Linked DNA regions of Homo sapiens: regions 2, 3, 4, 5, 6 and 7 are each linked to region 1. The links are contacts of gene promoters, found by promoter capture Hi-C in human tissues and cell types (Jung and others, 2019). All regions are on one chromosome and are shown on one strand. The core of a region is centred on a gene start or on the middle of the fragment in contact, and the rest is flanking DNA. Distances in the headings are between cores, read along the strand shown.

Region 1 (3,386 bases), core at 355-2,854:
CAGTGGATTTATAATGACACTCAAGGTACATTTTGACAGCACATTAAACACGTCTGCTACCCTCGGTCAAGACAGTTAACGAGATGGCCTTAAAATCAACACATGATTCTTTAGGCTTTTCCTCAAACTACGTCTAAAATTTTTTGCTTTTCCTCAAACTACTTTTAAACTTTTATGTAATTTTATCCCACAATTTCCAATACAATTTTTTTGGGAAAAAAAATTCCCTAGTGAGAAAGTAGTAGATGGTTTAAATTTAAATTGTTCTTTCATAAGGTATTTTACTAGTTATAAAAAAAAAAAAAGACAGGGGGTGGGGAGGGAAGAGAGAGATGGAGTTCCAGCTTAACTAACAGAATTGTACGTGTTTTTTAAAAAGGAAATCCTGGGTCCAAAGTAATTAACATTACACTTAATCTTTTCAATAATTTTTGTTCCCAAGGCAATTAACATGAAACATTATGTTAGTAGGTCTACTAGTGGCCTTCATATGCTATTAATCGTTTCTATTTTCTCATATTAAATAATTTCGGGAATGATAACTAAGGTGGTCAGAATAGAGAATAATGTTTAAAATGTTCTAAAAACATTTTAAACAGCTCGCACGTGTTAAGTCACTTGTCTTGTTATGTGCAAAGAGGGAGCTGGAGAGATTACGTTTCTTTTCCTTCACGCACAAGACCCGAATTTAGGGAGTGGAATGGACAGAATAAGGATAGCTGTAACCTGAGTTTAACGTCGTAACAAAATACAGGAAGAGTCACGCTAGACTATTTAGTCGCCTAAGTATCTGGCAAGCGGTCAGCTGGCAACAGCCTAAGGGAGATACTTCAAAGAAAAGCAACCAAACCTTAGCCCTAGACCCCGCAGCTTAAACCAGAGGGCAGGCAAAGGCATTCCTCTTCCCCTCCATCACCTCGGCCCATCCTGTCACAGGGTCAATATTAAACTTGGAAGTAAAGGAAAGAGAGCAGGCCGGAGTTGTCCACCTCCTCAGTGAAAAGGGAGCAGCAAGCGTAATTAACTCCTGCGTGTAACTGAGAGGCCGGCACCGTCAGAAACTCAGCCTGCGGCCAGTTCCCGCGGCAACTACTCGGTGGCTCGCACTGTGTGTATGTTATGTCTCATGAGCGTCTCCGGTGTGTGTGTTTTGTGTGATGTGCGTCTCCGGTGTGGCGGTAGCGGCTCCTGCACCGCCGCTCCTGGTCCCACCCCGAGTTCGGTCTCCCTTTCTGGCGCCCATCTCCCTTCTCCTCGGAATCAGGGCCTCCGCTGGGGCCAGGAGGTGACGAACAGTGGCCGGCTCTCCCCAGGCAAGGAGGCGATGTAGGCCCGGAGCCCAGAGGGCCGCATCGGGCGTGCCCGAGGCAGGTCTGGGCCCAACACCTGGCCGGGTGAGGTCCAGATCCGCCCATTCTCGCCCCACCCCACTCCCCCCACCCTGGGAGCTCAAAGAAAGGCCCGGAGCATCCCACGCTGCCCACGACGCTGGGGTTGTGTTCACCTCCGGCGGCTCCAGCTCGCTGCGACTTTTCAGGCTTCTCGTCTCCCGCCTTCCCGTCCGCCATTTTCCCCGCCGCGGCCTCCCCTGCAGCCACGCCAAGGACGTCACGACCCCGCCCAACAACCATCGAGTTTTTGGGGCCAGCCGGCGTGGTGGCAGCCTAGAGCGGTCCCGAGGAATGAAAAGAGGCCGCCTTCGGAAGCGGAAGTGGATGTGATGTCATCGAGTAGCCGCCTCGGAAGGAAGAGCTGGGAAGGTTGGGCGGTCTAAGAGTGCTGGCTAGGCACTTTATTAGAGGGCAGTCAGGTCTTCATGGTCTAGCGACAGGTCCGGAGAAGTGAGGGGAAATGGAGCATCTCCCTGGAAACGCTGGGATCTTAGAAGGTTTCTGCATACCCAGATGTGGTTGCAGCTGAGGCTGAGAGTGTCTTCCGTTCCGGCCTTGCTGGATAACGCATGCCTGCCAACTCTATGTAAACAAAAAGCCTGCATTCTTTTTCCCTAAAGGGGAAATCAGTGTTTATCTAGCGCCCCCTAGCTTCAGACGCCTTTCATACACTCGTTTAATCACGGCGATTGTCCAAATATAGAATTCTCCTCTCAATTACCTGTAAGAGTTGAGGTCAGAGAGAGTAATTTGTCTAAGTCACGTAGCCAACTGTAAAGTTACTTTTTGTATAGTCTGCTTCTACCAAGTTGAGAAACTACTATGTCAAGTTAAGACTGCAGTAATTTCTGCCTTAATAAGAAACCTTTAGTGGATTCCTACAGTCTGCATTCTGAAGTCCGTGAGTTACATTAGGCCCTAGCCTACCTTTTCGGCTTCATCTTCCCCCTTTCTCAGTATTTATCCAGCCCTCCTAGCCAAATGGGGTCTATTACTTGCTTAGGGAACTGGAGTTTCTGGGTTTGTCTTACCATATATAGTTAGAGAAAGTCTTAGGAGTCAGAACTTGGATTTGAATCTGTTTTGCCCTTTCCTGCTTGAGTAACCTTGAGACTTGCTTACTGCCTACAGAGCTACCTTTTCTTCTCTATAAAAGAGCAATAATAATAGTACCTCCTCAAAGAGTGGTAATAGGGATCAAATGAGATCATCTTTGTATACCATTATTTGGTCACTTCATACTTCCCTCAGTTTGTGTGTGTGTGTGTGTGTGTGTGTGTTTTAAGTGTTGTCTCTCTGAATGGCTCAAAAGTTCCTTGACAACAGAGACCAGTTTTTAAAAACTGTGTACTGTGCGTTTCATATATGAATATAAAAAGTGTTCAATATTTGCGGATGGATTACTTCTCGGGCTTCAAGTCCAGGGAGTGGAGAAAGAATGAAGAAATTATCAAAGTGTGTTTCCCATGACAGAAGCAGGGCAGTGTGGTGGTGATTTTGTGATCTAGGTTGAAGTCCCTGATCCATCATTTATCATATATGTAAAAGTAACCAGCAAACTATCTTACAGGTACTTAATTCATGTTTGTTTCATTTTCCTTGTGATCTTTTCAAGGTAATCATTGAGACTCTCGTTTCTATCATTTTAAAAATGGAGATATACACGAAGATTTTTATTTGAGATTATGTATTTACAGATGCTTGTAATTTTTTATGGGGGGTGGAATGGAGTCTCTCATTCTGTCACCCAGGCTGGAGTGCAATGGCATGGTCTTGGCTCACTGCAACCTCCGCCTCCTGGGTTCAAGCGATTCTCCTGCCTCAGCCTCTCGAGTAGCTGGGACAACAGGCGCGTGCCACCACACCCGGCTAATGTTTGTATTTTTAGTAGAGACGGGGTTTCACTATGTTGGCCAGGCTGGTCTCGAACTCCTGACTTTGTGATCCGCCCACCTTAGCCTCCCTAAGTGCTGGGATTACAGGCGTGAGCCACCG
Region 2 (3,386 bases), core at 611-3,110, 510 kb after region 1:
TTCTCAACTGTGTATTCCCAAGGCTGTATAAAGTGTTGGGCATATGATAGGCCCTCAAATAGAGTGGAATGAATAAAGAAATACTTATAAAGAGATCTGGGTTATAAATACCTGAAAGCATCAGGTCATGCCAAAATTTCCCCAATATGTATAAATTACCTTTACTTCTTTTCAGATGAAATCCCTAATTCTCTATCAACTAAACTTCCTCTTAAGAAAACGAGCTGGCTGGATATGGTGGCTCAAGCTTATAATCTCAGCATTTTGAGAGGCCAAGGCAGGTGAATCACTTGAGGCCAGGAGTTCCAGACCAGCCTGGGCAACATGGCAAAACCTCATAATATGATGTAGTATTATTATGCCACCTAAGAACAAAGACACTGAACAGAACATAGAGATTATAGTATATGAGAAATACATTTATGATTTATCATATTTGGCTGGGTCAGTATCCTTTTTTACTCCGTTGTTCAACTTTTTTTTATTTTTATAAGTGGCTTTTTTTCCCAAATGAACTTTAGAACCAGTACTTAAATTTAAAAATCCTGTTGTTTATATTCTAGACAACTTTTTATAGGATTTTTCAGAAGAACTAATTATTTAGTTGTTTATCAATTACATGTCCATTCTACTTTTTTTTGTATTTCACTGCTTTCTCTCTTTTTCTCTTTGTCTCTATAAATTTCTGCTTTTAATCTAGTTGTAATTTTATAATTTAATGCTTAATTTATTCATTCTTGTTCTTCAAGGTCAATACTTTTACTAATAGCAGCTTTATAAAGCTATAAGTCATAAGTTTTGGCATAAAGGAATCTGAATTTTATTTTGCTTAATCTTATATGTATATTTGATATTAACCATTGATATTTTAACTACATAGAAATATATATATCATATATATATGCCAAAACTTATGAGTTATAGCTTTATAAAGCTGCTATTAGTAAAAGTATTGACCTTGAAGAACAAGAATGAATAAATTAAGCATTAAATTATAAAATTACAACTAGATTAAAAGCAGAAATTTATAGAGACAAAGAGAAAAAGAGAGAAAGCAGTGAAATACAAAAAAAAGTAGAATGGACATGTTATATATATATAGAATGGACATATATATAATATATATATAGGCAATTTATGCATATTGGAGAAACTCTGGCATGACCTGATGCTTTCAAGTACGTATATATTTTCTCTTTTATGTCTCAACTGAGAGCCTGGAGTTTTTTACTAAGGTCCCCCCACCATACTGGGTTGTGAATTCAGACTTCTGTCTCTCTGATGGACTGAAAAACTGCTGAAATCTTGGCTTCACTCTCTGGCATCTGAGCTGGGGCTTTTTCCTTGTTTTTTCAAGTCTCAATCTGTATGAGTAAAACTTAGCAGTTGGCAAATGGCTGAAGGGCAAATTGCTGTAGTATTTTGAGCTATCCTTTCTGCATTCCCTTTTCCCTGTTACATTCTGGCTTCTTTGGTCTGTGTCTGCCCAGCCTGGGGAGGCTGCTGTCAGTGCCAGCTTACCACTTTCTGCTTAGAAATGGTGGTCTACATCACCAACACCTCTGAGGAAAGACAGTTATAAAAATGTGTTCATATTAGTCTGTCTCTCTTCTTTATGGGATAATTGCCCTTCAACTTCTGATAGCCTCGGTTGCTCTTTGATCCCTTCACTGTTGCATTCAAACATTTTTCTTTATCTTTTATTTAGCTTTTGTAATTGTTTGTGGCAAGAAAATTGGTAATGACGAGAGAACAAAACTTCTCCCTTAACTTAATGCATTCTTTCCTTGTACTGATCAATTCCTTTTTAATTTTAATCTTACCCTTTATTCTAGTTTATCTTAAACTCATTTCTTATGTTTCAGAAAACGCTGTTTTAATTTATGAAAAATGCAAAGTAGATAATTTCTAAAAATATCTTCAGTTTCTTATGGTTAATCGTTTTTTGTGCATACCCTGTATCCCTAAGGCAGTACTTCCTTTCTTTATGTTACTTAATATTGTTTTACTTGTCCTTGAAAAAGAAGAAATCTGTCCAGGTTTTGTGTTAGGAAAAAATATTTAATTTCTCTAAGTTCTCTGTACTTTTCATTAGGTATGGAGTAAATATCTCATCTCTTAAACTGAAAGGGTTTGTTTTTATTAGACATCTACTAGCCAGATTTCCAAGGTCAATGAATCATTGGTTTAGAATGACTCTGCTTGATTTTCTCTTGTCTTTCAGCCGAACTTACTGACTCAGAAGGGTGTTTTTTTCCCTGAATCATTTGAGAACAACTGCAGTTCTCTGACAAGGGTAGTACTTGAACAGTAACAAAACCAAAGGCACTGATTTCCTTGCCTATTCTGTTATTTCACCTCTCTTTTTTAAAGGCTTCGCATCAGAAGAACATGCCTCCGAATGTGTGTTTTTATAAGCCCCAGCTACCTTGGATTATGAAGGGTTATATTCAATGAGAGTTTTGGAAGGAGAATGTCTTAAAAGTTGTTCTTGTATTGTAGAGGAATGACTGCCAAGTGTGGGATGAGGGAAGAGCAGATTTTTTATATCAGGCAGTCCTGGGCTTCAATACTGGTTACCCCACTTTCAAGCTACCCAATAATGGAAAGATCATTTAAATCTTTTTTGATGGTAAAGTTGGTATGATAGTAGCACTCTGCTCACATAGCTATTGTAAGAACAAACTATGAAACGTAATACAATCAGTATACTCTTGGTACAAAGAAAATGTTCCTAAATATTAGCTGTTATTATTACTTTTATTCTTACTCTTATTTTATTGGATTTAAATATTAGTAACTTTCATCCCATCTCAGGGATCAGATTCCTTTGAGAAATCCATGCATTTCATGCATTAATCAAGGTTTTATAATATTTCCAGTTTGATGAGGTGTGGGTGATAGGGCCAAGTGGAAACTAGGGTATAGCAATGAAAAACAGGAAAAGTCTTACAGGAGATTCCTAAGGCTAATTTTTGCAATACAAATGATCCATCCCAGTCATTCAGGATGTGAGGACTTCCATATCAGAGCCCTATTTTAGTGCTATTTTAGTTCCCTGTTTTATGTGCTTTTCTTAGAGTTAGGCTTTAAAATTTCAGTCTTGTGTTTTAAGGCTACAATGAGAAGAACCCTAGAAGCAAATTAGGAGCCTTGTGTTCTAGTCCTGGGTCAGGTGATGTCAAGCTGTATAATCCAGGGTGTATCACATCATCTTTTAGGGTTTTGGTTTCATCTGTCAGGTGAGGAGTTTGGACTAGATGTTTTCTCAGGCTCATTCAATTCCAAAAGAAGACTGATCTAGGGGGAGAGGCTTGTATATAGACATGAATAGATTTGCCAATGCTCATGTTCTATAATACATTCTTAATTTATAGCAATTCATT
Region 3 (3,386 bases), core at 299-2,798, 420 kb after region 1:
CACACACACACACACACACGAAACCACCACTAAGAGACAGCCACTCAGGATTAGGCAAGTGATGGTCACCAGCCACTGGCAAACTTTGGCGAAAACATCAGTTATCATTTCCAGCTTTGGGGGTTTGCCTTGTGTCTAGAGCCCACATCAAATACATTGCTGCAATTAAATAGATTCTTTGCCACAGTGAGTTTCATTGGAATGTTTCCTTGCACTTCTCTGATGCATATAAATGAGGTGAAAATCTTATTTTGCTTTCTTCAGAGCCTGAAATATAAAGATTATGAAGAACGGCTGTCATCATAACATAGAAGCTTTTGAAAACAGTCTGTGGCTTAAAGCAAATCATTTTCTTCCCATGAATTAATTATCTAGCATTATGAATTTCTGTGAAGCCTATATAACCAGGCTTATGTTTTCTTATGCTGTTTTTATATTGGAGTTGCATGACAGTAACTTCCTATTTTCTTTTCAAGTGGAAAGATGGGTGGAAATTCTTTATAAGCTGTAAAATGCCATTCACATTTAAACCGCCATAATTTCTAAAGTTTTTAAAATTGCATTTGGTACCATTTACAAGGGTTTTTTAAATGCTTATTGGTTATGTTTCTGGTAGTATTTCACTCAGAAGATGTCTCTTGTCCAGTGTGCACATCTATAAGAAGCAAATTATTCTGTCTGCTTGCATTGCTGCATGCTTTGAAGAAAACGTTCTGTAGCTACCAGCAGAATTCTATGGTTCGAATAATGCCAGAAGCATTTCTGCTTAGATAATCATATGAAGCCAGGTGGGATTAATTAGAGACACTATATGCTCACAACTGAGGCACCAGCTTTGGTTCCATTCCTGTGACTTCCTGGCACCACTATTAAGCTAATAATTCTAGCTAGTGACAGTGGAGTTCAGACTCACCACCCCCATCGGGGTACTTTGAGGAGAGTTTAAAGATAGTAGGGCCTATGCCTCTCCCTGTTACTGCTCTTTTGCCAAGGTTAACAAAAGAGTCACTTGGGTAGGAGGTACAGGGCAGAGAGAAATCCTGTCCTCTGGGTGAGTGATGGTGAAACGACCAAGTCTTCTGTGTGGTGATCAGGTTGGGGTGGCTCCTGCTGCTGCCACTAATCCTAGCATTTTGGGGTTTCTCCTCACAGATTTTCCTCCTGGATCTGTGGGGAACCTGTCCTGATTCAGCCTCAGGTCCTGAGAGCTGGGCCTGGGGTGGAATTGACTGAGGCCAAATCAAGGATTTGGGAGCAAAGAGCAATTTACATTTTTGTCAAAGGCAAGGTTGACCTGGGATACAAAGAACTGTCTAAATCCTGTAGTCCAAAAAAAAAAAAAGAAAAGAAAAGAAAAAAAAAAAAGAGGTGGAGAATGAGAACTTTGCTGTGGAAGGTCATCAACAGAGAATATAAAAGATGGAATAAGCTGGGTGGACCTCGGAGAGCCCTTCTGAGGCAATGATGCATCCATCCCTTAATTTCCTTTTGGCCTGAAGTCTAATTTGTGAAAGCAATTTTCCTTCTACATTAGGTTTTCATTGATTATAGCTCCTTAAATCTGACACCTTGTTGAGCTGTACAAGGACTTGGGGACCCATCCAAAGGAAGCTTTGCCTTTTCCTCCTTATCTTTACCAGGTGATTTTGATGCATTTGTTTGAGGAGAGTTCCTGGTATGGAGGTCTAGACATTGAACTTTGGGGAGTAGAAAGCTCTCATGGAAATATCCCAGGTTTCTATATTAAATGATTATTTCTAAAGACAAGTACATACATACATATTTTGTTTACTTATTTAATCCAAGTGATTAGTCATTGAGCAGTCAGCTTGGGCTGCTATAACGAAATGCTGTGGACTGAGTGACTTAAACCAGAGAAGTTTATTTCTCACAGTTCTGGAGGCTAGGAATTCCAATATCAAGGTGCCAGCAGATTCAGTGCCTGGTGAAAACCTCTTACTAGCTTTCAGGTTGCTGCCTTCTTGCTGTATCCTCACATGGTGGAGACAGAGCTCACTGTGGTCTCTCTCCCTATTTGTATAAGGACACCAGTCTCATCATGGGAGCCTCACCCTCATGACTACATTTAAACCTAATTAATTCCCAAGTCTTCACCTCCAAATTCATCATATTGGGGGTAGGGCTTCAATATATGAATTTTGGGAGGACATAAACTGTTAGTCTATAACAAGGAGAAAAATAATGCAGTTGAACTCTGACTCAGTTCCCCCCAACTATCTGGGGGATGCTCCAAGTGGAATGGGGGAAAGAAGGCAGGTGCCTAGTCAATGTGATTCTGGACTCCAGGTAAATACACTAATGAAATATGTTAGCAGAAGGGTCTTTTCTGTAGAATGCTCCTAGCAGGATATCCTTGAAAAATGACATGAAAGCTGGGGTATAACACAGAGATGTTTCATAAAATGCTCCCTTATGGTAGGAGATAACACCACAAAACCTCCATTGTGGACCCCGTCTTTCACTCTGGGCCAGAGAGTTCATGTCTGTCATGAACCGAAAGGAGCTGGGGAACTGCTCTCAAAGTCCCCAATTTCTCTCTGCTTTTCTGGAACCTGAATCTTTTACTGGATTACCTGACTCTTTTACATCATGATGAAAGCTTGACACTGGCTATAATCTTGATTTGTGTGAGTCTGATCCTTTGTGTCAGATCAGGCAATAATAAAATAGAGCAAATAAAACAAACAAAATGGTTCCAAGTACATGTGTTTGTCTAAGATCTACTCATTTCTATTTTTAGCTTTTTTGTTGTTGGTAAAAAATTGTCCACATACAATTTATAGAGAAGAATAAAAGACAGAAATTTCAATCAGGTTCTTTAAGTGTTCAATGGATTATTTTTTTCTATTGTTTTATTGTGGTGAAATATACATGACATAAAATTTACCATTTAGCCATTTAAAGTGGACAAATCAGTGGCATCAAGCTTACTTGCATTCCTGTGCACTCATTACCACTATCCATCTATTAAAGGTTTTCACTATCCCAGACAGAAACACTGTACTCATTAAACAGTAACTCCCCATCTCCCTTCCCCCTAGCCACAGGTAACCACCAATCTACTTTCTGTCTTCATGAATTTGCCTATCCTAGGTACCTCACATAGTGGAATCATACAATTTATTTGTCCTTTTATGTTTGGCTTATTTCACTTAGCATACTGTTTTCAAGGTTCATTCATGTTGTTACATGTATTATGATGCCATTTCATTTAAAGGCTCATTAATATTCCATTGTGTATACATACCACATTTTGTTTATCCATTCATCTGTTGATAGACATTTGGGTTGTTTCCAGGTTTTTGGCTACTGTGAATAATGTTGCTGTGAACTTTGGTGTATAAAAATATCTGAGTCCTTGTTTT
Region 4 (3,386 bases), core at 242-2,741, 370 kb after region 1:
GTTTGGCGAGTTTTGGTTCTTTAAGAACAGGTTTAATTCAATGTATAAAGTATTAAAACATTTTTCCTCCACTGAATGACAGTTAAACCACTTTCTCTGAGTACATAAGCTCCTCCATGGTTATAATTTAGGCAAGTTTGGAAGCTGTCATGGCATTAGGATACTTCTTAGTTACTCATCAAGTATTTATTGAGTGGCTGAAGGAACAATAATATTTTGGTAAGTACTTGAGCAAGCATTAAAGATCAATAAATCTGGGATCTGAAAGATGCCTCAGTTTTATCCAGAGAAGAAGTTAGACACTACAAGAATCAGAGTTAGTAATCATGCAAGCATAGTTTCCTGATAGATGACCAGGTGTCTTTTTAATTTTGAATATTATAGCTGGAGTGCAATTTTAAGCCTCTTACCACTTTTAGGAACTTCTAGTACAGAAAAAGGAAGATGTCCATAAGGATCTCCATGAGTGTGGACTGAACCACTTCATCAGCTGGAGAACAGGACAGCAGAGAGTATGTGCATCAACTGAAAGAGCCACAGCCTGCGGCCAGGAGGAGACTTCACATGTTGGGGATCAGGAATCGGTCCAAATGTCATAAATTCACAATGTACTTAACGCTGTGCAGTTAGAATGCTTATTCACCTAGAAAAGTCATGCCCGCCAAGTCATATTTCTAGCATAACCACAAGAATTCGAAAGCTTCCTGGATTGAATATTAGCTGGGCCCTTTCCTGGAGGAATTGTCACACAGATAGAGAAGCAGCCAGGAGTCCACATTAGCCCTGAGCCCTGAGCATCTTCTTTCTTCAACAAGTGTTTATTGAATCTTGCTGTATGCCAGGCACTGGGCAAGATGCACAGGGGACAAAGATGGATGAAGCATAGTCTGACCTTGAGGAGCTCACCAACTAGGTGGGAGACAGACATGTTCATAACTACTGATGAGAAAGTGTGATAAATTCTGTAATACTGGTTGAACAAAGTGCTGTGAGCACAGGGGAGGGAGAGTGAAGCACTAGTTAACAACAGTGAAGAATTTTTGAGTTGAGAGGGTTTTTACAGGTTACCTAGTTCTTCTACCCAATGCAGGGATACTTACCACAGCATCCCTGGCTGATGGTCATTTAGTCTTTGCTAAATTTCCTTCTAGAAGTGGCTCAATGCATTTTCAGGCGTCTCTATTAAATTAACTGATGCAAACGGTTATCTGAACATTTGTCAGGCATTGTTCTGAGTCTGCCACATCTATCATCTCATTTAGTCCTTACCTAAGGATGGGTACTTCTAATATTGCTTTTTTCCTAATGAACAACTAGTTTGCCAAGTTTACATATCCAACAATGGCTGGAACCAAGTCTTAATTCCACAGTCTGACTTCAAAGCTGTGCTCTTAACCTTCCTGATACACTCATGTGTTTCTATTCTGCCATTTGCTGAGAAAAAGAGGAAGTTAAATTTCTCTCTTTTTTGACAGCTCTTCAAATATTTCCAGAGATCATTCGTGTGTCTGTGTCACCCTTACCTGTGACATCCAACTCTTCCCTAGTCATTCACTCTAAGTTCTTTCAAATGTTCCCCAAAAGACATGTTTTTCAGACCCTTTACCATCCTAGCCATCTCTGAAGCCTCCCGTTTGTTGATGAGTCTCTTAGATGTCTACAGAATCAATACAGCATTTCAGAAGTGGTCTGTCTACCACTGAATAAAATGGATGTCGCATCTCTTTACCTGGAAAGTATTCATTTTTAGTGGCAGCCACATCACATTCTTGACTTTCAATTTGCTGTCAAGAAAGCTCATAGGTCTATTTTCCCCGCTAATTTTTTTGCCCTTAACTAAATTTATACATTATTTGCAGGATTTTTGGGAACATGCTCAATTCACCTTATTCTGAAAGGCATGTTCCTAATACCATTTTAGAAAGATTGCTTAAGCCTTAATTAGAGATTCCTTTGGTGATATTAGTCATATTAATATTCATTTGGGACCTGTGTAAATATTTTAGTGATAGTTAAGATTTAAAAACTTGAATATCCAGTCTTATAAAAGTTACAAGTCCTATCCTAACTACCACTGCAAAAACTTACATAATTTAGAAGATCATTAGATTTTCAAGGTGAACCAGATTTTAAATATAAATCCTAGGTATTTGATAGTATTGCAAAATTATTCTTGTAAAGTTACTTGAAGCATTGGTACTGATTAAGTTATTAAAAAGAAAAAATGAAGATACTTGAAGCTAAGTATACTTAAGCATAAAATATATATTACGGAAACAAAAAGAGCCACTGAATGATGAAAGGATAATTATTTTACTTTATTATTTTCATGTCAGGTGGGTAATGTGCTGACATTGTAACAAGGTTTGAGGGAAGTACATTTCACACATGCATATAAAAACCCAACCATTATGCTTATAAACCACAAAAGAATTGAGAATTGTTTTTTACACTGATTGAAGTTTGAGGAATACGGTTTGTTTTTCTAGGGCTTTCCCTGCTGGAAATGATCACCCTGCATAATGGCTATATTTTAAGTCAAATGTTATGCTCCACATTAGCAAGTTATTCATTTAATCAGGCATGGAAAACCCATCTTTCTGGGCCATATTTTTATGCTCAGGTTTAATAGTTTGCAGAATGACCTCAATAAGTTGTTTAAATCTGTATTTGGAAAGGAGTCCTCAATCAGAATTCTCAAAGAACAGCTCTTGCTCAGGTTTCTCTCTGCACTTCTTCGTTATAATTATCTGTATGTAGATCTGTCGTTCTCCAATTGTGTCCCTGGACCAGTAGCATCAGCATTGTCTGGGTCCATTCCCGAAGTGCACATCTCAGATGTCCCCCAGACCTGCTGCATCAGAAGCTAGGGGGATGGGGTCAAACACTGTGTATTTTAATATGTTTTCCATGTAATTCTGATGCTTGCTAAGTGTGAGAACCAAAGAGCTACATTGTATCAAACTTTTAAAAATTATTCAATTATGTTGGGCCAAATTCTGGTAGAACAGTATGAGGAGAAGTCTCTACTTCTACTGTGATTACAGGTGGTCAGAGAACTTGGTCATGTGCCTGGCAGAGAAACCTCACTGCTGTGTTTCCCCACTCATATAAAAGAATGAATTGTTTGCTCTTTCTTTAGGAAATCAAACTAGGTATCCTGGAGTGCCTGGCCCTAAAACTGATAGAACAGCGCTTATCTCAGCAGTCCAATCAAATTCTGCACCCTAATATAGAAAGAAATACCCTTAAGAAAAGATTCTTAAAGATAAGAAGATTCTCACTCTTTGAAAGTCTGCATGAAATAACTTAGCAACATAAATTTTAGCCAGAAGGAGCTTAGATAATTTCTTTAGTTTTATTGCTGTCAAAAGGAATATTCTGCT
Region 5 (3,386 bases), core at 378-2,877, 350 kb after region 1:
TATATATATATATATATATATATATATATATATATATATATATATATATATAAAGTTTAGAAGATTCCCATTAATCTAAAGACAAATTTAATCACATGGGCAGGGAGGGAGTGAGTGTCGGGTCAAGACCCCAGTGCTGAGAATATATTTTGTTTCTTGATTGCTGGACTGAGGTTCCCTGATTGCTTCTGAAATCTAAAGATGTCTTGGGCAAATCCTGTCTCTCCTCTAGTTCCTGGTGTATTAATTTGGAAAACAGCACTTAACTACCTCACATAATATAGATGAGCTCATTTTCATTGCTTCTCCTTTGTGTAATACCTCCTGTCTAAATTAACTCCTGCTTATACAAAACAGGGCAAAGCTTTTATTACAATTAAAATATTTTAAAAACTGAACAGATAGGAAGTCCATACCTTATATAAATTTTGACAGAAAATGGAAATTTTCCTCTTTCCCCCTAGTGTTTTTTTTGAATGGGTTGCTTTGGAGGGGGAGAGGAGGAGGCCAAATCATCATCATCATGATATTAAATTGCATATGCAATAGGTTATTATTAATGCAGATACTTTATGCTAGATGTCTTCATGCTTGCCAAAACCAATTCTGAACATTTTGATTTATTTCTGACCAGATATAAATAACCAGTATAAACTGACCATAAGATAAAATACTTGGTTCACTTTTTTTTTTCTCAACTTGATGACTGCCAATTCTGCTCATTATGAGGACACCGGAAACTAAATATCTGGGCTCAGTGCATGCCACAGTAAAGCTAGTGAAAGCCTTGAAGATGGCCAGGTATTTTGCAAAGTATGTATGGATAACAGGTTGTGTGTGTGTATGTGTGAATGTGTGTGTGCGTGTATGTGTGTGTGCGTGTGCGCGCTAATGCGCATGTGCGCCCGCGCCAAGGTGGCTCCCTTATCCTAGCATTTCCTTTCATTCCCTACTCACATAATGGATCCTCTAACAGTTCAGTATAGGTACACTTTCCACTATTTTATTGACATGTTCTAGTCTTAATATTGGATAATTAGACACTTTCCACTGGGCCCATTTGAAAAGTAATTGATAATTACCTTTAAGACATTTTAAGTGTTAATGATATTTGTCACTACTAAGTGCTTAGTTTTATTTATAAAACTTTCAAAGTTTTCTGTTTAAGACTGTAAACTGTTTTCCTATACTACGTGTTAGATGAAAGTGTATTTTATCACAAATTAACCTTAGAATGCAACTCTTTGAATGTGTGCTTGCTGGAAGAATTCCAGATGGACACAAATCCCTCTAGGGCAGGTCACCATGCAGAACACTTAGGAGAAGCACGAACTGAGCCAGAGGAGGGTTGTTGTTTTCCACAAACTAAGCAGTGAAGTGGGAATTTGGGAATTCTGACACACGTCACCATCTCTGATTTCCTTTTGCGTGACCTTTTCATGCAAGAGCAAAACACTTAGCTCTTCATGAATGTCTGCTCCACACCAATGAAATGGAAGAGTAAAGGAGCCCCTCAACTATCAGGGAAAGAACAGGAGGCCTCAGTTGAGGAATACAACTTTTGTCCTGCCTTTGCTATAGCTGAACCACTGTTGAAAGGTTGAAGAACACAGTTTGCCCAGCAAAGATCCATCCACTCATGTACAAAGCAAAGCACTAAAGGAGCTATTAGTTTGATGGAAAAAACTACCCCTAAAGAGCTTCTTTCTAAAAGACCTTCCTCGAAGGTGATTTAATGGCATGTCATCATTTAAAAGTCTTAGGCTGAACTGTCATTTACACTGCACAATTGAGGAATGAAATTTTCTGAGTATTAGAACGTTCTTCTTAACCTAGCAATATAATATTCAACAAGACTATCACCTTATGTGAAAATACTAAAATGCAGTTAGCAATAAAATGCATGGTAAATAACCATTTTAAAAATGTTATTATAAAAGGTTGTAAGATACTGTGGTGTTTTACAGATGTAGCCTTTATAATTGAATTATATACACTATCCTTTTTTATGGGTTATGGATAAAGGGGAATTTATTTGATAAATAGGGCTCCATTTTCACCATTGCAATGGTTTAAGGGTGTTTGTTCACGTTTATGTGGCCTGAAGTCCCATTTTTATCACTATTATTATTTGAGATGGAGTCTCGCTCTGTCACCCAGGCTGGAGTGCAATGGGGCGATCTCAGCTCCTGGCAACCTCTGCCTCCTGGGTTCAAGCGATTCTCGTGCTTCAGCTTCCTGAGTAGCTGGGGTTACAGACACCCACCACCATGCCCAGCTAATTTTTATATTTTTAGTAGAGATGGGGTTTCACCGTCACCATGTTGGCCAGCCTGGTCTCAAACTCCTGACCTCAGGTGATCCACCTGCCTTGGCCTCCCAAAGTGCTGGGATTACAGGCATGAGCCACCGCACCTGGCCCCATTTAATTTATATAATAAAACAAGTGCAGGCTTTACCTGATTTTATTCTCACCTTCTGTTTTCTTCTTCTGCATTATCTGTCACCATGGGTTGGCTCCTCCCCACTTTCTCTTTTTTATTCTTTTCTCTCTTTTTTGCCACACTAAATTGTAATGTGTTTGAACAACTCTGACTTAATATTACCTCTAACAAAAAGCTGGAAACTGCACAAATATTCTTTGTAGGCTCTAAAAGTAGGTTGGCTGAAGTATGATACCTGAACTAATTATTCATTTGTATGCTTGTTTTATAAGTTTGACTTCCATTTCATGATTTTTTTGGTAGCTTTATGTTATTTCTGTTTTCAGCAATGGGTACTTTGACATCTTTCTGTCTCTGAATTGAATTTTCATTTTGCAACGGAAGAGAAGACAACATATTTATTCCATAATGAAAGAGCTAATGAAGTAGAATAACTATTAAATTGAGATGTTTTAGCAAAAAAACAAAAACACAAACCCCAAACGGGTTGTTTTGTTTTATTTTTTTCTAAAACATTTCTAACAATTCCCAGTAGGAATGGGTGGGGCCAGCCTTCCTCATTTACAATCCAGCTGCAGTGAGTCAAGATCCTAGCTTATTCTCCCAATTGTGTAATAAATGCAGAAAAATGATGTGACGGTCACTATTCTCAAATCCATTGCATTGTATTCCACAAAGGATATCCTGGCGGAAGGTGGAAATATGGGAGGGTACCATGATGTAAAGAATTGCCTGGAAATTTCCTTGAGTCATGCATTTTGTAAAACCTTACATTACTGCTATGAGTTAATAAGAGACAGGTTAAACCACTCCCCTCAGGATAGTAAGACTGGTTAAAAACACTGCTCTCAGCCCACACAGTTATAGCTACAGCCTAGGTTAAATGATTCCTCATCCTGGTGTTTTTATTCTCATGTTTAATTACTTCTTTAAAGATTAAGA
Region 6 (3,386 bases), core at 553-3,052, 290 kb after region 1:
ATCAAAACATACTTGTGTTCGTAGTGTAGCATATGTGCACACACACCCATACATAGAGAGAGGGAAGAGAAATCAATTCGAAAGGATGACTTAAAAAATTTAGCTGTTATTTTAGATATTAAGGATACATGTGTAGGATTGTTACATGGGTATATTGGACCCAGGTAGTGAGCATAGTACCCAATATGTAGTTTTTCAACCCACACCTACCCGCCTTCTAGTAGTCCACAGTGTCTATTGTTCCTATGTTTATATCCATATATGCTCAATGTTTACCTCTCACTTATAAGTGAGAACATGCAGTATTTGGCTTTCTGTTCCTACATTAATTCACTTAGGATTATGGCCTCCAATTCCATCCAAGTTGCTGCAAAGGACATGAGTTCATTCTTTTTCATCGCTGCATAGTATTCCATGGTGTATATGTACCATATTTTCTTCATCCAATCCACCATTGATGGGCACCTCGATTGATTCCATGTTTTTGCTGTTATGAATAGCTAATGATGAACATATGAGTGCATGTGGCTTTTTGATATAATGATATGGGATTGCTGGTTTGAATGGTAGCTCTGTTTTAAGTTCTTTGAGAAATCTCCAAACTGCTTTCACAGTGGCTGAACTAATTTACATTCCTACTAATAGTATATAAGCATTTCTTTTTCTCTGCAACCTCATCAACATCTGTTATTTTCTCACTTTTTAGTAGCCATTCTGACTGGTGTGAGATGGTATTTCATTGTAGTTTTGATTTGCATTTCCCTGAGTGTTACTGATGCTGAGCATTTTTTCATATATTGACCTCATGTATGTCTTCTTTTGAGAAGTGTCTTTTCCTTTGCCTACTTTTTAATGGGGTTATTTGCTTTTTGCTGGTTGAATTGTTTAAATTCCCTATAGATTCTTGATATTAGACCTTTGTCAGATGCCTAGTTTGTGAATATTTTCTCCCATTCTGTAGGTTGTCTGTTTAGTATGTTGATAGTTTATTTTGCTGTGCAAAAGCTCTTTAGTTTAATGAAGTCCCACTTGTCAATTTTTGTTTTTGTTGCAATTGCTTTTGGGGGCTTGGCCATAAATTCTTTGCCAAGGCCAATGTTGAAAAAGATATTTTCTAAGTTTTCTTCTAGAATTTTTATAGTTTGAGGTCTTACATTTAAATATTTAATCAATTTTTAGTTAATTTTGGTATATGATAAAAGGTAGGGTTCCAGTTTTTTTTATTCTACATATGGCTAGCCAGTTATCCCAGCAGCATTTATTGAATGGGAAGTCCTTTCCCCATTGTTCATTTTTGTCAGACTTGTTGAAGATCAGTTGGTTGTAGATGTGAAGCTTTATTTCTGAGTTTTCTATCCTGTTCCATTGGTCTATTTGTCTGTTTTTGTACCAGTACCATTCTGTTTTGGTTACTGTAGCCTTATAGTGTGGTTGGAAGTTGGATAGTGTGATGCCTCTGGCTTTGTTCTTTTTGCTTAGGATACTTTGGCTATTCAGGCTCTTTTTTGGTTCCACATGAATTTTAAAGTAGCTTTTTCTAATTCTGTGAAGAATGACATTGCTAGTATGATAGGAATAGCATTGAATCTGTAAATTGCTTTGGGCAGTATGGTCATTTTAATGACATTGATTCTTCCAATCCATGAGCATGAGACTCTTTTGATTGATTCAGCTTTGGGTGTGGCCAAGGTTGCCACACTGTAAATTTTGCAAAGGCTATGTTTCCATATTAATTAATCATGGTTACAAGCTAAGTACATTTTGTTCCAATAGATTCTGTGTTACTATACCCTGACAGTAACACAATATTCCTGAAAACCTAACTTCAGACCTTACTGGATTTCATCATTCAAAGAGGAAAAATTTAGATCTGTGCTTTTTTCCTGCTAAGAGATTTATTTCTTGCATAATGTATCAACTAATAAATACCTGATCACAGTGCACCTCATTCACAACTACTAGGAGGTGATTAGAGAAGGAGGGGAAATGAATGAAAGTCTGTTAATTGGCTAAAGCATAATGGGTTTTCTCTGGAGCTGCCCCAAATTGATCATCTCATTCATTTCCTTGGGTTCTCCTGCCTGCTGATTCAAACTGTCCCATCTTTCTGTGCATCAGCTGGAAACAAACACCTTCATTCTCTCCTTCACCATCCCAACTCCCAAGAGGAATTTTTACAGAGAAGGTAGAATGATTCTGCTCATGTGAAGAGAAGGTTTTCCATCATGAGAACTAGCCTATAATGCAGCACATGCCATCGGAAGCTAGACTGGTAATGCGAGGCATATATAGTGTGAGTACATATATCTACAAATGTTGAGGCAGTATAATTTCCAAGCATTCAAAGTACTGATATGCACTTGAATGTTAAAACATCATAAAGATGCCAAGGGGAAGAGAGATGAGACTTTTTCTTCATTATCTTGTCATAGAATTAGGCTGGTAGACTTCATGGTAGACCACTATAAGAGGTAGACCATAATTTATTTTTCTAGATTGGATATTGAAGCATGCCATTTCACTGTAAATCTGGGCCTAATAACTAAAAATACTAACATATCAGCAGTTACTTAGAATATTGTAAAAAGCTTCTTACTCACAAGAATGGACAATGATATTTGCCCTTTTAAATGTTTTAGAATAACCATACTCAATAATCACCTAATTAGAGTCATTTTAATAAAATTAAAAATATTAGCTAATACTAATGTATTAGTTATAGGCCAGACATTGTTCTAGGTACTTTATTACTTGTATTAATTTACTTAATCCTCTGAACAATATAATGAGGTAGGTATTAATATTATCCTTCTCTTAAAGAGAAGGAAATTATGGCGTAGAGAATTTAAGGGACTTGTCCAAGGTCACAAAGCCAGTATTCAACCCCTATGCTATAATGCATATGTATTTAAATTATTAGGATATTTTACATCATTCAGAGATTAAAAAATCAGTTTTCTTTGTTGTACATATATGTGTGTGAATGAGAAAGACAAACATGAAGAATGAAAAGAAGTATTTAAATGGTTTCTATAATTTACATACTAAAAGCCCAGACTTCATCACTACACCATGTATCCATGTTACAAAATGGCACTTGTACCCCGTAAATCTACCAAAATTTATAAAAATTTAAAATTAAAAATGATATAATGAACTTTTCTGTAGATATTTGTACCAATTTCAAAATCATATCTGCTGAAATTCAAAGGCACTAACTTCAAATGAAGAAAGATTTAGAAAGTAACTACTTTATATTAGACAGACTTCTCCATGATAATGTTTCTCAAACCATCAGTTGTCAGCATATTGAATACGTACCATGTGGCCTGGCTGTGAGTCCATGCAATAAGGCAGTATATGAGAGAGACAGAGCTGTAGACAGG
Region 7 (3,386 bases), core at 618-3,117, 260 kb after region 1:
TATGGTGGATCTATTTCTGCCCTCTTCATTCTGTTCCACTTATTTGTCTATTTTTATGCCAATACCATAGTGTCTTATTTACTGTAAGCTTTATTATAGGTCTTGAATCAGATAGTCAAGTCCTCCAACCTCTGTTTTTTTTTCAAATTTGTTTGGTTATGCAGTCTTTTATATTCCATATAAATATTAGAATCAGCTTACCAATTTTTACAAAAGGGCTGCTGAAATTTTGATTTGGATTGTGTTTCATTCTATAGATCAGTTTGGGGAGAATTGCCATCTTAATACAGATTGACTATTTCTTATCCAAAATGCTTGGGACCAGAAGTGTTGTGGGTTTCAGATTTTCCTGGATTTGTGAATATTTGCATAGACATGAGATATCTTGAGAATGAGACTGAAATCTATACACAGAATTCAGTTATGTTTCGTATACACCTTATACACTTATCTGAAGTAATTTTATACCATATTTTTGATAATTTTGTGCACGAAATAAGTTTTTGTACATTTAACCATCAGAAAGCAAAGGTGTCACTATTTCAGGCACCCACGTGGACAGTCTGTAGTTGTTTGGCATCATCATCGTCCCTGACTCTGAATTTACATTCTACAAAAAAACAATAATTTTCTTACACTTACTTACATATCAGTACTTCACAGTAAAAAATATGCTATACTGTTAGTACAGTGAAGAAGAATGTGTTCAGGGTACTAAACAGAACAGTGGCATCACCAGAATACCTGCCTCAGCTGTTAAACAACAGTAACAACAAACAATGGCAGGCTTCTAGTTTCTTTCTACAATTCTGTGTTTCGATTAAAGGTTATTGTACAACATACTTTATTTATTACTGTTGTTCGTGTGTCTGGTCTGCATGGGTGCCATTTTATGACCCCTTGTAGGTATGCTTGGTGGAGTAATCTGGACATGGGCAGAAAAGATATAACACAGCTGAAGGGAGCTGGGAGAGTCTTTTTTCCCTTGGGTACTCTTGTCTAGTGAGCCTGCATTTTGACTGTCACCCATCAAAAGAGGTCAGGTGTGGAATTTGCTACTTGTGGTATCATGCTGGCACTCAAAAAGTTTCATATTTTGGAGCATTTTGGATTTTTGGATTAGGGATGTTCAACCTATATTGAGTCTTCTGATCTATGAACATGATATATCCCTCCATTTATTTAGGTCATCTTCAGTTTCTTTCAGGAATGTTTTCTGATTTTTATTCATTCATTTATTCATTTGTTAATTTACACATGAAATCTTATTTATACTGATTCTACCAGGTATAGTATTAACCACAATAATTAAAACACTGTAGAGTGTGCAATAGTAAAGGTTTGTACAAAGTGTATATGTGGGAAGGACACAAGTGGGAATGGCCATCCATGCCTGGGGTGATAGAAGTTAGTTAACCTGGATTTCGAAGAATGAGTTGGCATTTTCCAATGAATCAGAGTGGGAAACAGCCCATGGAAGGTTTCAGGACCCAAACGCTGGGTATAGTTTCATTTGTTTAAAACTTACTATACAAGTTTAGAGTCCTAGGGAGTGAAGCCATCCACAGCCCATACTTGACTGATATATATGGTTACCAGATTTAGCATATAAAAATGCAGGACACCCAGTTAAATTTCAATTTCAAATAGACAACAAATAATCTTTTTAGTGTACGTATGTCCCATGCAATATTTGAGCCACAGGGCTATGCAAATCTGAGTCTGAGATACAAGTTTATTGGCTGTTTGTTTTTAGGAATATTATTCAATTTGTTAAAATCTTAGTTTCCTCACCCTTGAAATGGGAATAATAATAATATAAAATATATTTAAAGGTTTTAGTGAATTTGGCTAAGAGTTCTAGGGCCATTGTAGATCCCAAATAAATGACAATGTTATTGATTGAATGGAAGGAACATATAACCAATGTTTAGTGTATGGATCTTGCATATCTTTTATCAGATTTATTTATAAGGATTTCACATTTTTTCATCTATTATTAGTGATATTTTAAAAAATGTAATTTCTGATTATTCCTTGCTAGTATATAGAAATACAACTGATTTTTGTATATTGGCCTTTTATCCTGCAACTTTGCTGAACTCACTTACCAGTTCTAGTAGCTTTTTTGGGTATATTCCTTAGGGCTTTCTACATAGATAATTATTTCATCTACAAATATGGTTATACTACTTAACAATTTCTATGCCTTATATTTCTTTTTCTTGCCTTATTGCACCAAAATGGACTATTCCATATGCTTTGGGCTCCACAATTCTGAAAGGAAAATATATTACACTAAAAAAAGATAATTCCATGCTGGATTTCTGGATTCCTAAGTTTTAGATAAGACACAGCTGGAGATCTAGTAGAAGGATTAAAGACAGGTTAAATGCTGGCATTTTCTTCAGAATATTATAACATTTTTCCCTTCCACCACTAGTTTCCAGGGCAGGTTATTTCTGCTAGAAGAGAGCCCATTTGTACATCTTCTCAAAATAGAAAGCTCTCTTCAGAAGTTACCAAAGGCTATAATATCCTTATTTGACAAGGATGGGAATTCTGAACTGTTTAGTTACAGGCCAAGTAGTGAAGTATGCAGTATTTATCAGTGATGGAATTTTACCTTCCTTAGTACCTCTTTGCCTGGAGGTCATGCTGATTTTGCTCTTCTCTCTTCTGCCTACAGTGTCCTATCTAGGTTTCTCCTTTCTGAGCTGTGCAAATGCTTCAGAACATGTAACCATTCTGAATCCTGTTATTCCAAGTTAGTTAGTTGAACCTTCTTGTCAGATAGCTCCTAATTGAAAAGCCATTGGATTAAGCATGCATTCCCTTTCCAGAGGGAATTGCATTTTTTACAGCTTTTATTGGGATGTAATTCAAGTTTGATACAATTTACCCATTCATACTACAAAATTAAGTGGCTTTTTAGTATATTCACAGATATACCAAATCACCACAGTCAGTTTAAGAACATTTTTATCACCTCAAAAAGAAACATGTGACCCTTTAGCTATCATCCTTTTATCCTTTTATCTCCCTTCCCCCTCTTCCCAGGCCTAAGTAAACGCTAATCTACTTTCTGTCTTTACAGAATTGTGTATTCTGGATATATCATAAAATAAGATCGTATAATATATGGTCTTTTGTGACTGGCTTCTTTCACTTTGCATATTATTTTCAAAGTTCATCCATGTTGTACATGTATCAGTACTTTATTCCTTTTTATGGTCCAATAATATTTTAGTGTATGGATAGATCACATTTGTCAGTCAATGGGCATTTACATTGTTTGCATTTCTCTTAGGTATTTATCTAGGAGTAGAATTTCTGGGTCATATAGTAACTTTATAACTACATGAGGAACTGCCAGACTAATTTCC

The links. The method cuts DNA at HindIII sites, captures the fragments that hold promoters and counts their contacts. A contact is called where the count stands out against the background at its distance.
Region 2: a contact is called between a fragment that was not itself captured here and the fragment with the promoter of PCNP in region 1, in 1 of the 25 tissues and cell types used here (lymphoblastoid cells).
Region 3: a fragment that was not itself captured here is called in contact with the fragment with the promoter of PCNP in region 1 in 1 of the 25 tissues and cell types used here (mesenchymal stem cells).
Region 4: a contact is called between a fragment that was not itself captured here and the fragment with the promoter of PCNP in region 1, in 1 of the 25 tissues and cell types used here (aorta).
Region 5: a fragment that was not itself captured here is called in contact with the fragment with the promoter of PCNP in region 1 in 1 of the 25 tissues and cell types used here (mesenchymal stem cells).
Region 6: a contact is called between a fragment that was not itself captured here and the fragment with the promoter of PCNP in region 1, in 3 of the 25 tissues and cell types used here (IMR-90 fibroblasts, mesenchymal stem cells and thymus).
Region 7: a fragment that was not itself captured here is called in contact with the fragment with the promoter of PCNP in region 1 in 1 of the 25 tissues and cell types used here (mesenchymal stem cells).

What each region holds. Positions count from the first base shown.
Region 1 is chr3:101,572,398-101,575,783 of GRCh38, reverse strand. It overlaps PCNP (PEST proteolytic signal containing nuclear protein), which reads right to left and starts at 1,604. Exons shown (of 5, transcript NM_020357.3): 1 at 1,505-1,604. The coding sequence starts at 1,568. RefSeq lists enhancers at 1,085-1,244, 1,265-1,424, 1,505-1,634, 1,735-2,004, 1,448-2,393. The HindIII fragment of the contact is 9,941 bases long and covers 1-3,386 here.
Region 2 is chr3:101,064,986-101,068,371 of GRCh38, reverse strand. No RefSeq gene overlaps it. Among named protein-coding and RNA genes, the nearest start is that of ABI3BP, 73 kb to the right of the region's middle. The HindIII fragment of the contact is 3,799 bases long and covers 1-3,386 here.
Region 3 is chr3:101,157,033-101,160,418 of GRCh38, reverse strand. No RefSeq gene overlaps it. Among named protein-coding and RNA genes, the nearest start is that of IMPG2, 160 kb to the left of the region's middle. The HindIII fragment of the contact is 4,319 bases long and covers 1-3,386 here.
Region 4 is chr3:101,200,880-101,204,265 of GRCh38, reverse strand. It overlaps LOC124906356 (small nucleolar RNA U13), which reads right to left and starts at 2,434; the gene lies at 2,331-2,434. The HindIII fragment of the contact is 5,383 bases long and covers 1-3,386 here.
Region 5 is chr3:101,222,892-101,226,277 of GRCh38, reverse strand. IMPG2 (interphotoreceptor matrix proteoglycan 2) reads left to right here. Exons shown (of 19, transcript NM_016247.4): 19 at 1-3,386. Among named protein-coding and RNA genes, the nearest start is that of IMPG2, 96 kb to the left of the region's middle. The HindIII fragment of the contact is 5,403 bases long and covers 1-3,386 here.
Region 6 is chr3:101,285,532-101,288,917 of GRCh38, reverse strand. The region is part of intron 4 of IMPG2 (interphotoreceptor matrix proteoglycan 2); the gene reads left to right. Among named protein-coding and RNA genes, the nearest start is that of IMPG2, 33 kb to the left of the region's middle. The HindIII fragment of the contact is 4,277 bases long and covers 1-3,386 here.
Region 7 is chr3:101,312,596-101,315,981 of GRCh38, reverse strand. All of the region lies in intron 2 of IMPG2 (interphotoreceptor matrix proteoglycan 2), which reads left to right. Among named protein-coding and RNA genes, the nearest start is that of IMPG2, 6.3 kb to the left of the region's middle. The HindIII fragment of the contact is 6,029 bases long and covers 1-3,386 here.